Regions from separate parts of the Homo sapiens genome. Here all the other regions are linked to region 1. The links are contacts of gene promoters, found by promoter capture Hi-C in human tissues and cell types (Jung and others, 2019). All regions are on one chromosome and are shown on one strand. Each heading gives the region's core, a stretch centred on a gene start or on the middle of the fragment in contact. The rest is flanking DNA. Distances are from core to core; before and after follow the strand shown.

The links. Contacts are between HindIII fragments. The study calls those that stand out against the background at their distance.
Region 2: a fragment that was not itself captured here is called in contact with the fragment with the promoter of SH3GL2 in region 1 in 3 of the 25 tissues and cell types used here (H1 embryonic stem cells, dorsolateral prefrontal cortex and mesenchymal stem cells).
Region 3: a fragment that was not itself captured here is called in contact with the fragment with the promoter of SH3GL2 in region 1 in 3 of the 25 tissues and cell types used here (H1 embryonic stem cells, dorsolateral prefrontal cortex and thymus).
Region 4: a fragment that was not itself captured here is called in contact with the fragment with the promoter of SH3GL2 in region 1 in 2 of the 25 tissues and cell types used here (H1 embryonic stem cells and hippocampus).

The regions. Positions count from the first base shown.
Region 1 is chr9:17,577,671-17,583,396 of GRCh38, reverse strand. SH3GL2 (SH3 domain containing GRB2 like 2, endophilin A1) reads right to left here and starts at 4,331. Exons shown (of 9, transcript NM_003026.5): 1 at 4,110-4,331. The coding sequence starts at 4,154. RefSeq lists a silencer at 5,321-5,519. The HindIII fragment of the contact is 4,711 bases long and covers 2,141-5,726 here.
Region 2 is chr9:17,794,102-17,799,616 of GRCh38, reverse strand. SH3GL2 (SH3 domain containing GRB2 like 2, endophilin A1) reads right to left here. Exons shown (of 9, transcript NM_003026.5): 9 at 2,493-4,073. The coding sequence ends at 3,874. Among named protein-coding and RNA genes, the nearest start is that of SH3GL2, 220 kb to the right of the region's middle. The HindIII fragment of the contact is 5,161 bases long and covers 748-5,515 here.
Region 3 is chr9:17,812,160-17,817,846 of GRCh38, reverse strand. No RefSeq gene overlaps it. Among named protein-coding and RNA genes, the nearest start is that of SH3GL2, 240 kb to the right of the region's middle. The HindIII fragment of the contact is 3,516 bases long and covers 1-3,474 here.
Region 4 is chr9:17,765,683-17,770,862 of GRCh38, reverse strand. All of the region lies in intron 3 of SH3GL2 (SH3 domain containing GRB2 like 2, endophilin A1), which reads right to left. Among named protein-coding and RNA genes, the nearest start is that of SH3GL2, 190 kb to the right of the region's middle. The HindIII fragment of the contact is 3,552 bases long and covers 259-3,810 here.

The DNA.
Region 1 (5,726 bases), core at 3,082-5,581:
GCACTAATCCCATTCATGACTTAATCATGAGTGCCCTCATGACTTAGTCACCTCCTAAAGGCCCCATTTCTTAATACTGTCACATTGGCAGTCAAGCTTCAACATACGTATTTTAGAGGGACACATTCAGAACTTAGCAATATACTAACCAACTCATTAAAAAAGGAGAAAGTATATCTTTTTGATGCAATAGAAAGTTATATGTTATTTATAGGCTGAACTGTCCTCTTAGATGTTGAATCAAATATAGAATACTGTGGTTAATCCTTTTATGCAAATAACGACTGTTATGGATTGAACTGTGCCCCTCCCAAAATTCATATTAAAGTCCTAATTACAATAGCTCAGAATGCAACTTTATTTGGAAATAGGGGCATTACAGATGGTAATTATTTAAGATAAAATCATACTGGAGTAGGATGGGCTTGCCCAATCCTATATGACTGGGGTCCTTACAAAATGGGGAAATTTGGACACTGAGACACACACAGGGAGAATGTCATGTGAGCATGAAGGCAGAGACCAAGGTGATGTATCTACAAGCCAAGGAAGCCCAAAGATTCCCAACAAAGCACAAGAGCTAAGAAGGCAGCCTCGAATAGATCCTGTCTCATACCTTCAGAGAGCTCGTGGCCCTACTGGCACCTTGGTCTCAGACTTCAAGTGTGCTTGTCTCAAGAAGTGGGAAACAATGTATTTCTGTCGTTGAAACGACTCAGTTTGTAGTACTTTGTTACAGCAGCTCCAGCAAACTCATAAAATGACCTAATATATTTTACTTTATAATAGACTTTTACATATTGTAAAGCAAAATGTGTCCACATCATATGCATGATAGAGTGAATTTTTAAAAATACAGATTTTGTAGGAGCTTCATGTTCACTGGAAACAGCTATTTTTAACTAAGCTGCTGCCAGTTTAAAACAAGTGTAAAAAAACTGACATGACTTTTGTAAAATGAAATCTCAATATGAATAAAACTCACTAAAAGAGCAACACAAGATCATCTGCCCTTTATTACAGTAAAAAAAGAATACTTTATTCTAATTATACAGTAAATTATATCTTTATGAGCAATTAAGTAATGAAGTACATGAAAATAAGATGATCAATCAATTTTTGGTATCATTATATATTTTCATGCTGAAAGGATTTTCTTCTCTAATAAATTTTACTTGGCAAAAGCATTTTTTTACCTCCAAATTGTAAACATATTGAAAATAACTGTCAGCAACAAGGTAGAAATAACCAATTCTAATATAAGACAACAGTTGTGACACATTTAATCAGAAATTCCAAGTACAAACAATATACTGTTTTATTTATCATCGCTTACTAACACAAGCAAAAAAGCTCAATTCCATAGAAAGAAACGTTTGCGTGAACAGACTCCTTCCACTTATAAACCCAGGCTATAGGCCAGGTGCGGGGGCTCAGCCTGTAATCGAGGCGGGCAGATCACCTGAGGTCAGGAGTTCGAGACCAGCCTGGTTAACATGGCTAAACCCTGTCTCTACTAAAAATACAAAAATTAGCTGAGCGTGGTAGTGCATGCCTATAATCCCAGCTACTCAGGAGGCTGAGGCAGGAGAATCGCCTGAACACAGGAGGCAGAGGTTGCAGTATGCTGAGATCACGCCATTGCACTCCTGCCTGGGCGACAAGAGTCAAACTTTGTCTCAAATGAATAAATAAATAAACAAACAAACAAACCCAGGCTATATTATCCAGCACATCAGTTCTCAAAAGGAAGTAATTCTAGGTCTAAAGCTTCTCTGTAGATAACATCAGGTTCACGGACCTGATGGAAAAAAATGGCTACAAAAGTAGGACAGGACTATTTCTCTAATTTTTTTGTCACATGCAAACATTAACATGGGCTTTACATACTCTCCTAAATATACATATGCACAGAACAGTCACCTGTGCCTTAGACTTTCTAAGAGTGTGCTACACTAAATTATGGATAAGAGACTACGTGCTGCTTCACCTTTCAAATAAAAGGCTTTTCAGTAAAAGGAAGACAATGACGCAGTGATTCTGCATTTGGATTCGGTGTGATAAACATTAACCGTATCGCATCACATGCCGACCTTCTCCAACCTTTTAAGTTCTTTCCTAACGCAGTTTAAATTATTTTTTCTACACTTTAGGGCGACACAGAACTTCAAGATTTAGCGGAAATGGAGCGCTCTATTTTTTAAGTTGGAAAAACTAAAAGGTCTAGCTTGGGTAACTTCTTCACAGCATAAGGGATAGTATTTTATACTAATAAAAATATCCTTTATGTCAATAACTATAATTTATTGAACACTTTATACGTGTGTTCTACACACTCGTTTCTCTTCACCTCAACCCTGAAGAGACAACGGAAATTATCATCACTTCAGCATGGACAGGTTCAGAAGTTAAATACTCTCTCAAGGTCAGAAGCAGCAGAGGCAGGATTCAAACCTTAGCCTTTCCCACTCCAAAGCCAAGACTCTTAATTGCCTTTGAGGGCACTAAGCTTTGCAAAAGAAATCTTTAGAATCCAAGTGGAAAAAAGATGTGTTGGTAAACGCAGTGCTGAGATATGCTATAGAGAAGTGACCAGTAGAGCAATCAAAAAGGTTAGTAATATCGAAGAAGTCCTGCCACAGAATTCCTGGGCAGCACATATGCTTGGTTCTGTAAACCTGAAAGAACTTGCAGTATAAAGTTATTAGAAGCCTTCCAAACTACATCAACAAACAAATCACTTACTTTCATAAACATGTCTGGCAGAGAGGTCACAGATAACTCCAATTATAATAGAAAAGCAAAAATAATTACATTAAGAAACATTTTTACAGAAATAGTCTTACTTTTCTTGATTTCCTAAGTTGACAGGTATAATTGATTCTATAAAGGCAAGAATGTGTGATGAAGATGATGCAGATGCGTGCAAACACACACACGACGGGAATTACATGCTGCATCTGTCACCCTAAGTTAACCAAGGTTCTGTAAAACACAACCCTCACCTTTTCTGGATGTGGTTCATAACAAGGCTGCCACTGTGGTAGCCTAGGAAAAACCTCACTACTTCCGAGAAATTATGAGAAAGCTCGTTAATTAAGGCTAACCTATGAAAAACTATTTAACACCAAATCATGAAAAACATTTCGCGGTAAGTCATCAAAATCCTTAAAGATCCCATAAATTTGAACCTATTTCAGAAGGATAAAAAAGTAGTAATCACACACATTATGTAAGAAATAGGTCACAGCGTAAGTATTCGCTTACTTGCCCCTATGTAAAATTCTTTGAGTCCAATGATTTTAATTATTAGAATCTAAATTAATCAGTTTTATTACAGTCACAGCTTATTAACCCCATAAAGAAAAATGGGCACATCCAAGATGCCAAAGATTTATTAAAAACAATTTAAAATACATGATGATTTTAAGTCTTCAACAATTTGGTTGTTTTAGGGAAATATTTAAGACCCGCAGACTGTTTGTCATGCCCTGGCCTCAAAGGAGTTTCACGACCGAGTTCTCCAGGTAAAAGTTAATGTATGCGGGTCCCTAAAGGAAGACCCCAGCCTTCCATTCCCCTGGAGCCTGCGGGCGGCGGGGAAGGAGGGTTCTGACAACAGGGTAAGGGAGAGGAGCGCAAACCGCCGGCCTCCGCCCCGCCACCCCCAGTGCGGCCACCGCTCATGCCAACACATCCCGGGAAAGCCGGGTGCACCGACTCCGCAAGGTCACCCGTGAAGAGGCGACTTTACATAATCTCCCACCGCGCCGCCAAGGCACCTGCGCGCCGCGGCAGCAGTGCAGCCGCGGTCCCCTTCCTGCAGCACGGGCGCGAGATGATGCGGGGGCGGCGAGCAGCGCTACCAGGCAGGACGCCGGGGACCCGCGGGAAGGCAGCGCGCACCAAGCCGGGGGCGGGGGACCGAGGGTGGACGCCCAGACCGGGGATGCCCCGAGCCGCCGCCTTGGCTTGCGAGGCGGGGCGCGGCCGGCGCGGGCGAGGCTCGGTGCCGAACTCCCCAAGCTGCCGCCGGACGGCCAGCGCCGAGCGCGCCCCTCGCAGCTTCGCCCCGGACTGCCCCGGGACGCACCTGCCGCGCGCCTTACCTGAGTGGCTTTATGGAACTGCTTCTTGAGGCCGGCCACCGACATGGTGCAGGAGGCCGCGCTGGCGGCTGCTGTGCGGGAGGGAGGAGGCGGAGGGGGACTGGAGGGCCGAGCGGGGCGGCGCGCTCCCCTGGCCGCCTCTGGTCGTGCCGCCGCCGGGGCTATGGGCGCGAGGGCGCGGAGCCTAGCGGGACACGGGCTCTTGCGGAGAAACACTCTGACGTCAAGGGCGGGTGATGCGGCCTCTTAAAGGGGACGCGGGAAGCCCCGCCCCAAGCGCGGGAACGCCCAGGCAGGTGCTGTGGCGCGCGGTACCTGGATGCTGGCGCCAACTGCGGGGATGTGGCTCAGCGGCACCCGCTGGCGGATCCCTAGTCAGCGGGCCGAGGACGTCCTCCTGTCCCGGGGTTGGTGTTCCTGCCCCCGGGGGCTGCGGACGGGTCGCTGCAGATTGGCAGCCCAGGCACCCGCAGGACTCAGGTGACTTGCTGGGCTTCCAGGTAGCCGCGGCGGCGCTGCCTGCAGACGGCCCTCCTGCCCTTTGAGCCTGGCGTCTCTGCGCCGCAGCCTGAAAAAGACTGGCCTTCTATCTGGGCTAATGAATAAGTCATTGCTCCTTCTATGCCTTGCCCTGACTGGTGGGTCACAGAAAACATTTCTCTGCCCTGGTTTCAATATCCCTTAAGCCCATCTTACCTTAGGGAAAGTCACACACGCGTTTTCCCCCTTGTCTGATACAATTTAATGACTTAAAAAGAAGAACAGGAACCCTTAAGCCTGGACGGATAAATAGAATTGAAGTCTTACTACAAAACTAGCGTTCAATCCTCTGGTTACAGAAATGAAAAAGCCCAAATGTGATCTTGTTGTTATGCTTGTGGATTTAGGGTTTCCGGTCCGATAAAAATCAAAATATAATGTGAAAAAGCATGATACTAAGTTATATACAGATGCTTCATATGTAACCAAGGAGGTATGGCTGGCTAAAGTGAAACTAATAGATGACTTGGGAGCAGAGCAGCACTAAATGCCTTCTGTGCTCTGGTACTTAACCAAGTCTGGTTTTTCTAGGACTGAGGAGGTGGTCAGAAAGAACTTAGACGCTGTCCCCGTATGTGGACCAAAGTGATAAGAAGGAGAAGCCAAGATGGGAGAAATTGCCAAGGATGTGTAGAGACTGCAAGGCCAAATGGGAGTCCTAGAAATACTTTTTCTGTCTCCGCAACTCCTGCAGCCTGATAGGAGCCACAGACCCATCCCCACTCTTCTAGGCACTGCGGCTTGGGCACAGGGTGAACACCTGCTACAAAAGGGTCCTCCATCCGTAGAGCTACCAGTCATGGTCCTTCTTGATAATGTGAACTGACACACACAAAGGCAGAGTCAAGCAGTGGTGGGCACTGGAGCAGTAGAGCGCATGGACTAGGGACGCAGGCTGCAAAGGGAGGCAGATGAAAGGAGCTATTCTCCAGTGTGGTAGCCCTTACCACTGTTCATATACCTTTCCCTACATGGCAGAATTGCACTTTCCAAACCTCTTGTTAAGTGGAGGCATGGTTACAAGTTTTGACTAGAGGTTTAAGAGGAAAAGTGACTGTCACTTCTGCAGCAGCAATA
Region 2 (5,515 bases), core at 2,079-4,578, 220 kb before region 1:
TTCTTCCTGGAATCTGTGGTCATGACACTTGTTTCATGTGACATTGACTCATAGTGAGATTACTGTATTTGGCACAAAGTCTTGCTGTTTTCACTTTGGGGTTATGGAACTGATATTAAAAAGGTTCAGTTGATATGAGTGCATCACATTAAACATAATGGAATGCTTTTCCTTCAAATATGGTCGAATGCATCTATGTCTCTTTCTGGACTCGCTATTCTGTATATACAATCTATTCTGCTATCTTTGTATCAAAACCATACTACCTTAATTACTGTAACTTTTTAATGTTTTATATCTAGAAAGAGTCCTCCAACTTTGTTCTTCTTTGAGAAAAAACATCTTTTTTCTTTTCCACAAAAATTTTATGACAGGCTTAAAAGTTGAACTTGTCAGTTCTCGAACACATGGAAACAAACTTCCTAAGATTTCTGGTTGAAATCGCACTTAATAAACAGCTAGATTTGGAGGAAAATGATACCTTTACAAGACTGAGTTTTCCAATCTAAAAACACAGAATATCTTTCAATTGCTTTCTCAAATATGTTCCATAATTTTCTATGCAGAGATCAGGTACAATCTTGTTAGATTTGTATCTATGGTTTTGATTTTTTTTTTTTTTTTTTGAGACGGAGTCTCGCTCTGTCACCCAGGCTGGAGTGTAGTGGCGTGATCTTGGCTCATTGCAAGCTCCGCCTCCTGGGTTCAGGCCATTCTCCTACCTCAGCCTCCTGAGTAGCTGCAACTGCAGGCACTCGCCACCACACCCGGCTAATTTTTTGTATTTTTAGTACAGATAGGGTTTCACTGTGTTAGCGAGGATGATCTCGATCTCCTGACCTCGTGATCCACCCGCCTCGGCCTCCAAAAGTGCTGGGATTACAGGCGTGAGCCACCGGGCCCGGCTGGTTTTGATTTCTGATGCCTTTGTGAATGACATTTTTTTAAATTACATTTTTTCTGATTGCTATTGATATATAGAAATAGATTTTTGTATATTCCTCATATCTAGTGATCCTATTAAATTCACTGATTTTTCTAATAGTTTATCTTTGGATTCTTTATGATTTTCTATAGTCACAATATCATTGGTATTTCTTAAAATTGCTTTAGAGAACTGATCTGTAATACTCTAGAACTCATACAGCTAGAAAAAAATATTTTCACGTTAGACTAGTTCACATATAGAACTTTGATATCGTTTGGCTGTGTCTCCACACAAATCTCATCTTCAATTGTAGTTCCCATAATCCCCACATGTTGTGGGAGGGACCAGGTGGGAGGTAATTGGTAATTGAATCATGGGGGTGGGTTTTCCCATGCTGTTCTCGTGATAGTGAATAAGTCTCATGAGATCTGATGGTTTCATAAAAGGCAATTTCCCTGCACATGCTCTCTTGCCTGTCACCATATAAGACGTACATTTGTTCCTCCTTCACCTTCCACCATGATTGTGAGGCCTCCCCAGCCAAGTGGAACTGCGAGTCCATTAAACCTCTTCCTTTATAAATTACCCAGTCTCGGGTATTTCTTCATAGCAGTATGAAAATGGACTAACAGAAACTTAGTATATTTAATTACAACTATTCATGTTAGATTAGAAAATCTGGACTATTGGCCTCAGCACAAAATAATAGAAATGGCCCCTAATACACAAAGAACATGTTTATTTTCCTGGGAACTCAGAAAATACACATTTTGTGTGCCTTGCTGCTCCCCTATTCCCACTCACACCCCAAACATATACATCAAGAGAAAATAATACTGGCCTTTTTTTTTTTTTTTTTTTTTTTTTTGGAGGCAGCATCTTACTCTGTCACCCTAGGCTGGAGTGCTGTGGCGTGATCTCGGCTTACTGCAACCTCTGCCTCCCAGGTTCAAGTGATTCTCGTGCCTCAGTCTTCTGAGTAGCTGAGACTACAGGCATGCACCACCATGCCCAGCTGATTTTTGTATTTTTAGCAGAGACGAGATTTTTCCATGTTGGCCAGGCTGGTCTCGAACTCCTGACCTCAGTTGATCCACCTGCACTGGCCTCTCAAAGTGCTGGGATTACAGGTGTGAGCCACTGCACCTGGCCTAATAGTGACTTTCGATCAAACTATTTTTCCATGTCTATTTCTTTATCTTCAATTACGAAAGAAAATAAGAGGCTACTCGAAGGGATATATTTTATTTCCCCTTCCTAACATTATATTCTTCAGATGATACCACTTTTAACAATATATCATTTAACATCTATGAGACCTAATTCTCCTTACTTTCTTCTCTCCCAAATTCTCCTCCTTCCTGGGGTTACCAGGAAGGTCCCAATGTCCAGGCTAGCTACTTCCTTGCTGCTGAAACTTTTCCTATGTGTAAAGAGGTAGATATGAAGTTGGAGCCAGGTCTTGTTTGGCTGCATGAGAAAGCAATGGAGACTGAAACCAGCCCCCATCCACCCAGTGTTAGACCCAAAGAACTGACACAAAATGAAGGAGCAGAGCCTTTGGTTCTGTCTTCAGCAATATTTATTGGAAACAGCGATGCTTCCTGTGGTGAGAGTTTATACATTAAGCAGTAAGATTTGCCTTTCACTCCACATGATCCACTACTGCAGGTGGCACATCGGAAGCAGCACGTTAAACCTCTGAAAGAGTCTGTACAGCTAGATAAATAGAACTCTGCATACCTAACAGGACTTTCATGACTGATACAAATAAAAAAACACACTGATAAGCTTACACACAGCACTGTACACACAAAATGAAGACGATGGATAGAAAGGGCAGAAGTAAAAGTAGCGACTGAATTGGGAAAGAGTTTTGCATATGCAGCCATATACCTTAAACTGCTAAGCACAAAAATCATCTTTATTTGGTCCTCATTGAGGGCAGAATCTGCACAAATGATGTTCAAAGAACACAGGGTAAAAGTGGAAAGGAAAGGTATTTACTGTTTCTCAGTATATGAACTAGTGGAAAGATGGTTACTAGTGTTTTCTTCCTTGTGTCTCTGTGCCAAATGGATTCATGAAACATGTAATTCACAAATAAAACTGAAGTGAAGATATTTGTTCCCCCTTCCCTGTGCCCTTCAGAAATAGCCTAAATACATACATAGTTTCTGTATAGCAAGAAATTTAAGCTTGGATACCAGATTTCTTCCCAATTCCTCATAATGGAGAATTTCTTTTCAGTCCCTCTCACAATAATGCTGATTAACTGTCTTACTGAAAAATAATTTGGAATTACCGCTCTGGCTTTAATAGCAAGGAGGGAAGAAAACTGGCTATACGTCAGAAATAGCCATAAGTGTGAGGAGCTGAGATGCCTATTTGCAGAGAATGCTTTGAACCCACAATTAACACTTTTCTATGGATGCATTAAGAGACAAATTCATTCAGATCAGGAGACAATTTGCTGGTGAGGGAAGGCTTACTTTGACAATTCCATGACTCACATATTTGGGAAGGGACAGTGTGAAAGCAAAAGCTTTCTCCTCTTTGCATGGAGAAATGCAAAGAGACCTTCAGATGGCCCCTGGGGTGATAGACAATATCTTCGGTGGGATGGTTTTTCTGTGAAATGGCTCATGGTCATATTCTAAGAAACCACAGCCTCCTGAGAACTGTGTAAACAGCAGTTCTGTGACTACTGGCTGGTCTCAGATGATGTTTTAAAAAGCACATGCCACGCCCACCAGGCTAAGAGGATATCATCCATCACCATGACTCCTGTGGGAGCCCACAAGTCAACCAAAGTCACTTGGTGGGGCTGGATGACGTGGACCACTGCGGCCTGCACTTGGGATGTGTTATAAGCAGCATTGCCAAAGCAGTGGTTAACCGTAACTATCTGGGTCAAGAGGAGGCGAGCCAGCCAGCATAACATCCTAATGGGGCAGGGCAACCAGAATTTCCACATAATTGATGGGGAAGAAGCCTGAATGGCCATGCAGCATCCCCTCATACCAGTTCTCATCAATTTGGTTAGTGAGTGTGATGATATCGCCCTCTTTAAATCCCAACTCCCCTTCATTTTCAGGTTCAAAGTCGTACAGAGCTCGGCAGCAGGGCTGATCCATTTGGACACCTGGGAGTAAGAGCAGGAGAGAAGAGAAGAACACAAAAGGATAAGGGGTATTTAACTCACAGAATCTGCTGCCTGCTGTACCCACCTGGCTTGCTGCTCCCCGTCTTTCCTCCCTCATTCCTCTTCCTGTTGAAGCTTCTTCTTGCTACTGGACCTTAGTGTCCACTGCACTGGGCATCTTGCCCTCTACCAATCCTCAGAAGCTTTCTCGGACCTTTGGAAGTTGCTGCATATTCCTGTTTCTGTTTCCAGTATGAAAAACAGTCACATCTATTCTTGTGATACATACAACACAGTTCATTATAGTTTGCCTTCGTGATAATGCCCAGAAATAGGAGGGACAATGACTTAAGAAGAATATAATGATGTAGGTTAATAACACAGCATGGCAAGAATTCTCTCATCTGAGCACTTTAAAACCTTTGCATATCTGAAAAAGTATGGTGAATTACATGGAGAATGCTTTTAAGTAACAGTTCGGTTATCACTCTTTAAAATGATAACCCCAGCCTCTGGAAAACTGCTGTAATGTGGTGAAAACGGAATAATATAAAACACTGAGTTCAAGTTTTTACTTTCTGTGACCTTGCACATGGTACTTCGCTCTCAGTTTCACTGTCTGAAATTGGATGTAACAGTAGGACTTACTTCACATTACTACTGTGGCTACTAAATGAGATTATGTAAAAAATTTTGTAATTTATACTTGGTAAGGTAAACTGTTGCATACATAAATATATGCAGTGCACTGGAGCTATGGCATACAAAAATAATGTACTCCACCTTGAGTAAAATAATGAAGGATGAAATCATATCTTAAGAGGGATCTATTCCAAATGACCCGCTGTATTAATACTACATACATACACATGTAGATACAGACTCAGACAAGTGCACACAGTTCCCATGCCATCTAGGTGGCTGGAAAGGAAACAATGTAATTTATTTTTTTATTTAGAGAAAGAAGCAAATTACTGAGTCTCCAGATGAAAAGTGAAATATATGGTTGGTTTTCAGACAGGGAGAAGCATAGCTATACACAATTTCTGTGACTAGTCCTGGTGGCCAGCTCCAGGAGCCACAGCTGCTTATGTCATGCCCTGAAGTGCTGAGCGCAAAGGACAGAGAGCACCACCTGCCGGCTCAGACCTCGCTTTTTTTCTTAATAAGTCTCCTGAGAGCATCTTATAAAAAGTTTTCTACAGTAGAACATCAAGCACTGGGGATACAGGAAAAATAAAAGAAAGCTACCTATCTCTAACATCCACATCCAGTATAAGACAGTTCCCACTTCAAACAAGCAAATGTGGAGGTTGAAAATGTCTCCAGCACAGGCTGTTGTGTAATCTGCGTGTAGGAGTGGAGAGCAAGTGTGACAAGGTAAAGAATGCTCTATTTGGTATGCATCGATATTCCTGAGATAAAATGTCATCTAGCTTTTA
Region 3 (5,687 bases), core at 467-2,966, 240 kb before region 1:
CAGCAGGCCCTTTACCCATCCTTATCCTCTCCTGTCTCAGTTTCAGGGGGATCAGAGCTGGGGCAAGATGGGGTCTGAAGTTCCTGGGTACCCTAATCACCTATAAATCTTTCTCCACAAGATGCAAGTCCCACAGTGTTTCCTAAAAGCTTAGATGTTAAAGACTTGAAAACACATAGAAACCTTAAGCATCATAATTAAATCACTTAAACATAGTTACTTTCAGAGCAACTTGGTATAGTAGAGTAACTGTAAAGAGCTGAAAAACAGCTGTGGACCAAGACAATTTCACTGTAGCACATGCTAAAATAACTGAAGCATGATAAAATGTTTTCATTATTTTGGAATCAAAAACGCTTGTTAACTAATTTATAACTATCCTAGAAATAAGGTTTTTATATTTTTGTTTTTGCCAACAGAGGTCCCATTCAGGAACTCTCCACAGCCCATCTGTAGCCGTAAGTTATCTGCAAGTTACTCAGGAAATACAAGGATGCTCATCATGAAAAGACATTTCTCCCAAGCTCTCTTCCTTTGGTTTCCATCCATACGGAGACTGGGCCTGAGTGTGGAAACTATCTCCATCAGCTTTCTGTTCTTGAATACTCTTATGAGTTTGCTTGTTTTGGGGTTTGCTTATTTGAAACTTAAGTTGCTATTACGAGCGTTTCAATGGTGATGATGATGATGAATATAAGTTTAAAATAAAACAAAGCAGAATAAACAAAATAACACACTGGTAACCTGCTTGTTCTGTACTGAATTTCATATAGATGCCCATGATTCCACACAATAAATTGTTGCATGTTTCCTGAACATGCATTCCTTCATGCTGCCTTTGGCCTACCTATTCCCACAGCCTGAAAATCATGTTAACTATTGGATGAAAGAGTTGAATTAGAGGACAATGGTGCTTTGGCCCTTTATTAGAGCTCTGGGAGGCTGGGCTGAATCTGCAGAGTGCATTTGGAGGCACAAGTCTTTGTCTCACACCCACTGAAAGAGACTGTTAACCATGAATCTGTTCTTTCCAGCCATGCCTGCATAGATAAGAAAATATTCTTAGTCCTCCACCTTTAAAATGCAGATTATGCTAGTGGTAAACTTTCTCAGAGATGACTGAAATATTTTTTAGAAAGCAGCATATGGAAGCATATGGAGTCAGCCTTCAGTGAAAGAAAGCCAAACCACAGCTTGATCCATTTATCCACTGATTCATTCATAAATTAGTTCATTCACCAAGATTTATGGATAAATCAGCAGTCCACGTTCTGAGTTAGGTTCTAGCAGTACAACAAGGAATGATGCATGCTGCTTTCTCCCACCTAGTTCACAATCTGGCAAGAGAGAGAAACACCAAACAACAAACCATAGTACAACACAGCAACCACCATAAAGAAAATGCTTCTGCTATACCGTAATACCGTCTCCCAATGTATACGTGCGTGCGCGCGCGCACACACACACACACACACACACACACACACACACACACACACACACACACCCCACCCCAGATCAGTCAGTATGACCAATCTAGGCAAAATGGCTGGGCAGCACACACTCATGGAGAAGTTTTTTAGTGGTTTTGTGCTTTTCCACATTTCCTATGCTTCCTTAATCCTTAAATAAGAAACCCAACTCCGGTTTCCCTTAGACACCTCTCTCATCCCACGTCAGGTCTCACTTTCCTCAAAGTGGTCAATGAAGTGCTCCTGGCTCCACAGATGTCTTTTTTTTTTTTTTTTTTTTTTTTTTTGCTTGCCCACTGGGAGCTTCCTTTGGTAGCTGCTGCTGATTTTTGTCCACCACTATTTTCCTCTTCTGTAGTTGATGGAAAAGCCTTCTTTTTACACCAGTCTTTGGGGCTATTTATTAGGCTGCAGGACCGGCATATGCCCCTGGTTGTATTTTAGTCTGCCCTCTTGAGGAAAACTTAGGTCCAACTTTCCTGGGATCTTCACGTAAGACACTGGAATGGTACCACCTGTACCCAGTTTTACATTCAAAATAGCTTTTCCCCAGATCCTGAACTAGATTATGCCATCCTGGTTGTCAGGAGGATGTCTCTGCCTGTTCAGAGGACTTCAGTCAGAAGCAGGCATTAACTGTGGTTCCCCCCCGATATTGTGTAAGAGTCTTAATCCAGGTATCAAAGGGTCTGACTGTACACTTATCTATCAATCAATCATCTAACTGCCTACATTTTTTTTCACTCTTTCTCTCATGAAAAGAGCATTCTTTTACACCCCTGAGCTCCCATGGTAGCATTTAGATTAGCCTCTTCCCCCTGCAGATATAGGACCAAGCAGGTGTTTGCAGATGTTCCACCCTTCTGAGTCCAAAGCAGCATCAGAACAAAGCTGAACCCATACAGTTTCTTATATTTGTAGTTTTCTTAATTCAGAGTGTATAGAAATTCCTAGTGACCCTTGAAACTTTTCAGAGTGAAGGGAAAATGTTCCACTTGCTCTTTATTTTTATACCAGAACTCCTAAACCATTAAATTGCACAAGGGAGAAGGGAAAGGTAAGACAAATCTGAGTTCTTTATTTAGCACATATGTGAATAGAACTTTACAACATGTAGAGCAAATTAATTACATTTCATCTTATTATCTAAAACATGTTACATCTACGATTAATGTCAGAAATGAGAAGTGCTCTTGATAGGAGAGGAGGTAATTTGATTTATCCTCTGTGGTGAATTGAGGCATAGCCCATGGTTTATAAAGTGAGGCATCCCCAAACTTCATCTTAGTGAAAAAGGACTTTTTTTTTAAGTCTTCTCAGAATTCTTATGGGAATTCTAACAACCATCAGGAGGTGCTTGAGAACCAGCAAAGGCAAAAACAAAATCTTTGGGTCTTTACTCAGTGGACAATGCATAAGCATGAATTATACCTCTGGTATATTACTAAGCCCTGAAACATTACAGAATGTAAGCAAAACTTGATCCTCAAGTAGTCTCGAGTGGAAGACATAGATTCATATTATTATACATAGAAAAAGCTTAAAGGAGTCCCTGACACATAGAAATCCCTTAATAACAGCTTTAGTTATTAGCTTCTGCACTATAATAGACGCACATGATATTTTGTTTTGTTTTTAGATTCAGAGGGTAAAGGCAGGTTTGTTACATGGGTGTATTGCAAGATGCTGAGGTTTGGGCTTCTAATGATCCTGTTGCTGTTGCCCAAGTAGTAAATGAGGTATCCATTAGGTAGTTCTTCAACCCTTGCCTGCCTCCCTCTTCCTTTTCAGAATACCCAGTGCCTATTGTTCCCATCTCTGTGTCCCTGCATACCGAGTATTTAGCTCCCACTCACAAGTAGGAAAATACAGTATCTATTTCTGTTCTGCCTTAATTTGCTTAGGATAATGGCATGTGAAGTTTTAGAAACTGCTATGACCTCATAGAGAGGAAATGACATGGGGAAGTGGTATAAGATCTTACAGAGGAGGTGCTTTGAGCTGAGCATTGGAGGATCTGTAAGGAGTTTCCTAGGGAAAAAAGAAAGAGCATTCCAAACAGAAGCAACAGCACAGAGAAGAGCAAAGCCTTGAATTCACATTGGTACTAAAGGAATCCTGAGGGTGTATATTGTCCATAGAACAGAGGGTTGAAAGATGGGATGGGAGAAGATGCAAATTTAAAAGGCAATTGGGCCCAGATGATGAAGGACTTTAATGTTCAGGCTTTATTCTGTACACAATAGGGGCAAAATTTTGGAGAAGAACAGTGATGTTATCAAACCTACGATTTCAAAAGATCACAACAGGAGTTTCTAAAAAAGAAGGACTGGGTAAGACAGGTGGCGGGTGCAGGGACTGCAATTAGGAGGCTCTTGTGGAAATAAGGAAGATAGGAGGAGGGGACCCAAAACAGGCAGGGAGCAGCAGAGAAGGTGAGAGACTCAGGAACACTGAAGGACAAGCTTTTCCTTTTTTTTTTCTTTTTTCTTTTGGAGACAGTGTCTCGCTCTGTCACCCAGGCTGGAGTACAGTGGCATGATCTCGGCTCACTGCAACCTCTGCCTCCCAGGTTCAAGCAATTTTCCTGCCTCAGCCTCCCAAGTAGCTGGGACTACAGGTGCATGCCACCACGCCCGGCTAATTTTTTGTATTTTTAGTAGAGACGGGGTTTCACCGTGTTGCCCAGGCTGGTCTTGAACTCCTGAGCTCGGGAAATCTGCCTTCCTCAGCCTCCTAAAGTTCTAGGATTACAGACGTGAGCCACCATGCCTGGCCAGGACAGGCTTTTTCATTATGAATTGCTGCACAAATATTCTTCCCAAAGTATTGGGCATAATTTTTAATGAGGTTCATGTCTATACATTGGGAGTTCTTTTTGATAAAAGAAGTAACTAGATTATTTTTTAATTTTTATTTTTAGATGGAGTCTCGCTCTGTTGCCCAGGCTGGAGTGCAGTGGTGCCATCTCGACTCACTGCAACCTCCGCCTCCCGGATTCAAGCGATTCTCCTGCCTCAGCTTCCCGAATAGCTGGGATGACAGGCACATGCCACCATGCCCAGCTAATTTTTGTATTTTTAGCAGAGACGGGGTTTCACTATGTTGGCCAGGCTGGTCTCGATCTCCTGACCTCATGATCCACCCACCTCAGCTTCCCAAAGTGCTGGGATTACAGGCGTGAGCCACCGCGCCTGGCTATGACTGGATCTTATGCTCTTTTCCTACTGGCTCCATTGCCGGGGGGAGGCGAGCCTGTTTTTTCTTTGCAGGCGCCACTGGGTGCAGCTCACTGAATTACAGGCACAGGACTCAAAAGTATTATAATCAGTCCTGATCAAGGGATTTGGCCAACCTGCACTAATAACAAATGCCACACTGAGGTTTCATTGCACTTTATCAGAAAGGATAGAACATGTTCTTTTCTGTGTTACAGAGATGAACATTAAAAAGGTGGTTTGCTTCAGCTAACAAAATGAAATGCTGCTGTTCCAGATAAAAAAAAAGCAGGCAGCAGGGCATGAGAGAAAACAGAGGACACTGAAGGTATGGGCAGGTCGCTCATGTGTGTGTAATGCCCGCAGATCATCCAGACCTGACTGACAGATAGCTGTCAATCAAGAGCAATGAAGGACATCTCCATTCTGCAGTCCTATTGTCTGAAATCAGAGATCCTCATTGCTAACGACAACATAAACAATAGTTGTTTGTTACTACGTTTGCTGTTAGGGTGCAGAAGAGCTTAAGATGGATGAATGGTTTGGCCTCTGTTTAAATTGCATCCTCAGAAAAAAAGAAAAAGAAAAAAATGGAGACTCTGGATTTGGCAACTCTCTTTCTCTCACACACACTATATAATCCACTGAAAATCTTGGCAACTCTAAGATCTTTCCAATGCAGCCTAATCTGACCACTGTGTGCCACTCCACTACTGCTACTGTGTTCCAACCAGCAGTGCCTCTGGCCTGGCCCCCACACTGGCCTCCCAGCTGGCCAGTCGTTCACTGCTGACCACCCCCTCTCACAGTCAGCAGGGTATTCTTTTAAAGAAGTAAATCAGATCAAGCCACTCCCCTGCTCAAAGTCTTCCCATGGCTTCCCATCACATCGAGAAGAAAATCCCAGTCTTTAAGGGGACCCTCCAGCCCTTCGTCATCCACTCCTACTTCTCCCATCTCGTCTCCCACCATGCCCCTCACACCCCTGGCTCCAGCT
Region 4 (5,180 bases), core at 785-3,284, 190 kb before region 1:
CTGAGTCCGGGCTGTTCACTTCTCTGTGGCAGTGTGATTGAGAGCTCTGGCTTCCCGCTGGCTGTTGGCCAGTGGCCACCCTTAGGTTCTAGAGACTACCCCCAGTTCCTTGACATGTGGTCCTCTCCTTGGGCTGTCATAACATGGCAGTGTGCTTCTTCTAGACAAGGAAGGGAATGTCTCTCGTATTAGTCTGCTAAGACTGTCTCACATAATGTGACTTGGTCATGGGAGTGATGCACCATCGATTTGGCCATATAATGTAATCACTATCAAGGGAGTGGTGAGTAGTTGATTCCATTACCTTTGCCATATTTATTGGTTAGCAGCAAGTCACAGGTTCCATCTACACCCAACGGGAAGGGATTATATAAGGGTGTGAACCTGTACAAGTCACCCTAGAGTACACTTGCCACACTTACCAAGCCTGGAGGTATCTTTGTAGTTTAAGACTTTGTAGCATAAGACATTTTTTTTTGAAAACAGAATGTGCCTTGGAGATAGTAATATCTGAATAAAGATTCTGGCTGTTCTGTTGTATAGTTCGGGCAAATTGCTAATCACCTTGCAGCTTCAGTTTTCTCATTCAAAAATAGATACAACTATTATCTATGTATATAAACACAAATGTCTATTAATAGCTTCAGCCCAGTGATTTTATACATGACAGTATGCACATCCACACTTTTCCCAAAGCAATTGTGAAATATACTAATTGTACATGACACCAAATAGATATTACACAGAGAACAGCTCTGATACTGATCTGTAAAAGTCTGCAGACCACGACACTTACCTGAAAAGTTAGCTACTCCCGTAAGATGGAGCTTATGTATGCTTCACATGATTTGATTCATTCATTAAGCAAATTAATCAATCGCTAGCACCAAACTCTGTGCTAGGAACTGGGTATATATAAAGGAGTAAAAGAGACATAGTCCTTGTCTTCAATGACTATGTTTACAATATACTGGAAGAGATGAACAGCATTCATTCAATAAATATTTACTGAGGGCACTACTTCCATTATTACGAATAGTAAATAAGACAGACAAGATTCTACCCTTCTGGAGATTACGTTCTATATGAGAAATGGGAGTGATGTGAAAACAATAAACAAAAAGATAAATTAGAAGATAATTCCAAATGTTGATAGGAAATAATATAAGGAGGTATGAGAGGGATGAGGAGAAACTATTTTCAATAGGGGTCGGGGCAGGAAAGGACTGTACAGGGAGACGGCATCTGACTGAAGGTGGAGTGATGAGGAGCAGCAGACATTAACAGGAGCTGGAGAAGAGTGTTCCAGGCAGAAGAAACACCTGTGCAAAGACCCCGAGGCAGGAACAAGTCTGAGGATAATTCTCAGTGCAATGGAAGCCAGTGGAGAGTTACAAGCAGAGGAGTGACAAGATGTGAATTACATCTTTAATGGATGGAACTGGCTGCTATGTGAAGAATGTAAAATAGGAGAGTAATAATGGAAAAAGGCAGTATAGTGAACAAATCATAAGTTGCATAAAGTAAATATTATGAAAAGTGCAATAAAAGAATAGAATTGGGCTCTTTGCAGTGTACAAACAATCCTGTGCTCAAGTCACTGCGTCACTGCATTTCGGTAGCAGTGACAAGCAACACTTTAACAAGTAAATGTACATCTGAAGTGGTGCTAAATGCTCTGAAGAAAAGTAAAACAAGAAAAGGCTTAGGAAGTTAGAAGGGCTGATGTTTTAAACAAGATGGTCAGGAAAGCTGCACAAATTAGGTGACATTTGAGCAGAGACCCCAGCGAAGGCTTTGAGAAGACATGGAGAGGAAGTGATTGAAGCAAAGGGGCTGGCCAGGCCCCATGAACAATAGTGCCTGTGTGTTTGAGGAAGGCTAGCTCAGAAGGAGCGAGATGGAGACAGCCAGGAACATAAGGAATGAGCTCAGATCCTCAGGACTTTGTAACCCACATAAGTGCTTTCAATTTTATTCTAAGTGAGGAACTTCTCAAGAGATTTGTTGAGGGGAACTCATGTGATATAAAGGTAGCATGAAAATATAAAACTGGAGTAGAAATGATTTCGACTTGGCCCTCAGAAGACACCACTCAGAGTCGAGATACATAAGCTGAGACAGGAGGGATGGTGAGAAGACAGTTGTCGAAGAAGGGGCAGATGAGGGCCCATATTCTACCAGGAGAAGGGGAAACAGCCGCTACAAACTCCTGATACAGCAAAGAACTTGAGGAATTGAAGAAACTAAAGGCCACAGAGTGAACAAGAGGGAGAAGGAACTAGGAGAGACAGAAAGCACAGGGGCCACCACATGCTGGATCTTAAAGGCCATGCTGAGGATTTAGGTATGGTATTTATTTATAGTATTTAGGGACTATTCACGTGAGGTGCCATTAACTTAATTCTCAATATACATGTACACATGCATTTTAAATGTATACTATATTTGTTATGATTAAGAATCTGGTGTTTTTTTTTTTTTTTTTTTTTGAGACAGAGTCCCGCTCTGTCGCCCAGGCTGCAGTGCAGTGGCATGATCCTGGCTCACTGCAAGCTCCGCCTCCCAGGTTCATGCCATTCTCCTGCCTCAGCCTCCCAAGTAGCTGGGATTACAGGTGCCCACCACCAACAGCAGCTACTTTTTTGTATTTTTAGTAGAGACAGAGTTTCACTGTGTTAGCCAGGATGGTCTCTATCCCCTGATCTCGTGATCCGCCCACCTCGGCCTCCCAAAGTGCTGGGATTATAGGCGTGAGCTACTGTGCCCAGCCCTGATTAAGAATCTTTTAAGCAAGATCTGGCTTTAGCATTCATTGTTTAGACACACAAGTAAAGAATATCATTATTCCACCAGTTCTAGCTGACTTAAAAGTCTAAATCACTTACAGTGTCTCACATATTTCAGGAACCTATTTTCAATATTTTCCCCAAAGATGTAGAAGTAGAAACCCTCCAGCCTTTCAATACATTAGTATATGAATTATATCACCCATCACCTGACTTAAGTTTTCTTTCTTAATATATTTATCCTTGAAATACCCTATTCCTTTGAAGCTTAACAACATTTTCCTCACAACTGCTTTTGTAATCTGTCCTTTATGCATTTTGATTATTTTTCATTGCCAGGATGTGGAAATGGAAAAGCTCTGGCTACTAGACTCAGCACACATCCCTTATTCTTTAAGTGAAGGATGGATATATTCATTCATACACCTATTCACCAGACATACTGAGAGCAAACAATGTACCAGGCATAATGCTAAGGACTCTAAAAGATGCAAAGATGAATACAAGCTATCCTGTCCTCCAGGAAAAAACAGTAAATTCAGTGTGTTGTGAGACCAAGGATTTGTCTACATGAATGCCAAGTAATACATGTATTCATTTTCAGTTCCACAGTCACCAAATATAATCACTGTATTTATTCATCTTTGGAAGGACATGATTAAGAGCACAGCCTGTGGGAAAAGAAGTACACTAATTTTAATAGAGTATCTTTCCAGGGACTAATGGTACATTTTGAAACTAATACAGCTAGCTTTTATTTCCACAGGCAATATTTCACAAATGAGATTTGAAATTATTAAAAAATTCTAAATAGACATCGAATGACCCCAATTTGATACCCAAATCTCAGAAATGCTGGAAAAATCTAGACCATATAGGCATTCAAGGGAAAAGCATTTCCATAGAGAAACAAACCCCTACTGTGTACAACATTTTTCACATTCAAGCTGCTTTTTATGTAAGCAGTTTGGAAATTTGTATTAGATTATCACATCAGGGTAAGAGTAACTTCTCAGTGCAAACTGAAAAGGCCTCTCTCATAACAAGGATGCTAAGTCTGGAAAAGGTCCACAGTCCAACTGTCTACAATTCCATTCAAGTGTCATGAAACAGACTTTCAGAATTTTTTTTAAAAAATCCAGAGCCTAAATATATCCTAATTCTAAATCAAGAATCCATTTCTCTATTGAAAAGAAAAACCCACTGATAAAACATAAAACCAAGGAGGTAAACATGAAACATATATCGAACAGAAAGGCAAACTATCTAGTGCTGTACCGTCTATTACGGGCACCACTGGCCACAGCGGGCTGCTGAGCACCTGAAATGTGGCTAGTCCAAATTGAAATGTGCTGTAAGTATAAAATACAGACCGAAATCCAGAGTATGAAAAAAAACATAGAATATCTCAATAATTTTTAATAGTGGTTAATATTTTGGCTATAATGGGTTAAATAAAATATATTATTAAAGACAATTTCATCTTTCTCTTTACTTGTATAATGTGGTTTCTAGAAAATTCAAAATTACATATGTGGCTTGCATCCTATTTCTATTGGACAACATCGATTCAGTTTTTGCTCCCCCGTAAGGCATCAGAATATGTAAAGAAAACTGAGTTATATCTTCTTCAGTGATTTTTGCTCACAAATATCGTAAGAATAGGCACTTACAACCAGTAGAATGGAATTTGTGCACAGTACTTTCTATATTCAAATTATATCTTATTTAAGCATTTTAGGAATGTGTACTGGTTCATGCTATTGCAGTTCAAGCTTGGATGACTTTACAGCTGTCTGTCCTGCGTTCTCGAAAGCCCACCCTCACAGGGCAGACGTTTAAGCCTGTGATCCCGCTCACACTTCCACATCTCATCAGTTAGCTGGATTTTCCAGGAGGAATTAGCTGTGAAGCCTTCTGGGCTCCTCTCCTCAGACTGTGTGTAACTTACACTAAGACTGTGAGGTTCCAGAGGACAAGCCTCCAGTCTTGGTCTCATTTCTGCCCCACAGCATCTAGAATTGCTCTTTGCATAAAAGTAAATGCATGTGACAAATGTTGGTTACATATGAGTATCTGATGATTTAGGGAAAAGGAAGAATTTTTCCTCCTACTTTTTGTATTAGAGAAGTTTTAGTACATTAGACACTGACAGTCAACTGTGCTTCATAATTCATTTATTCCAATATCCCAGTGCCTGTTGGCTGCCTGGAACTGAGCTGGGGGCTGGGGATGTGGTGGTGAATAAGACAGGCACAGTGCTGAACTCATGGCGGATGAAAAACAAAACCACAAGTATGGCATGTGCCCCACTGAAAAGCAGCTGGGATTACAAGAGGGACAGTGACAGGGGAACCTAATGTGGTTGGAGCCAAGGAAGGCTAATAAGTG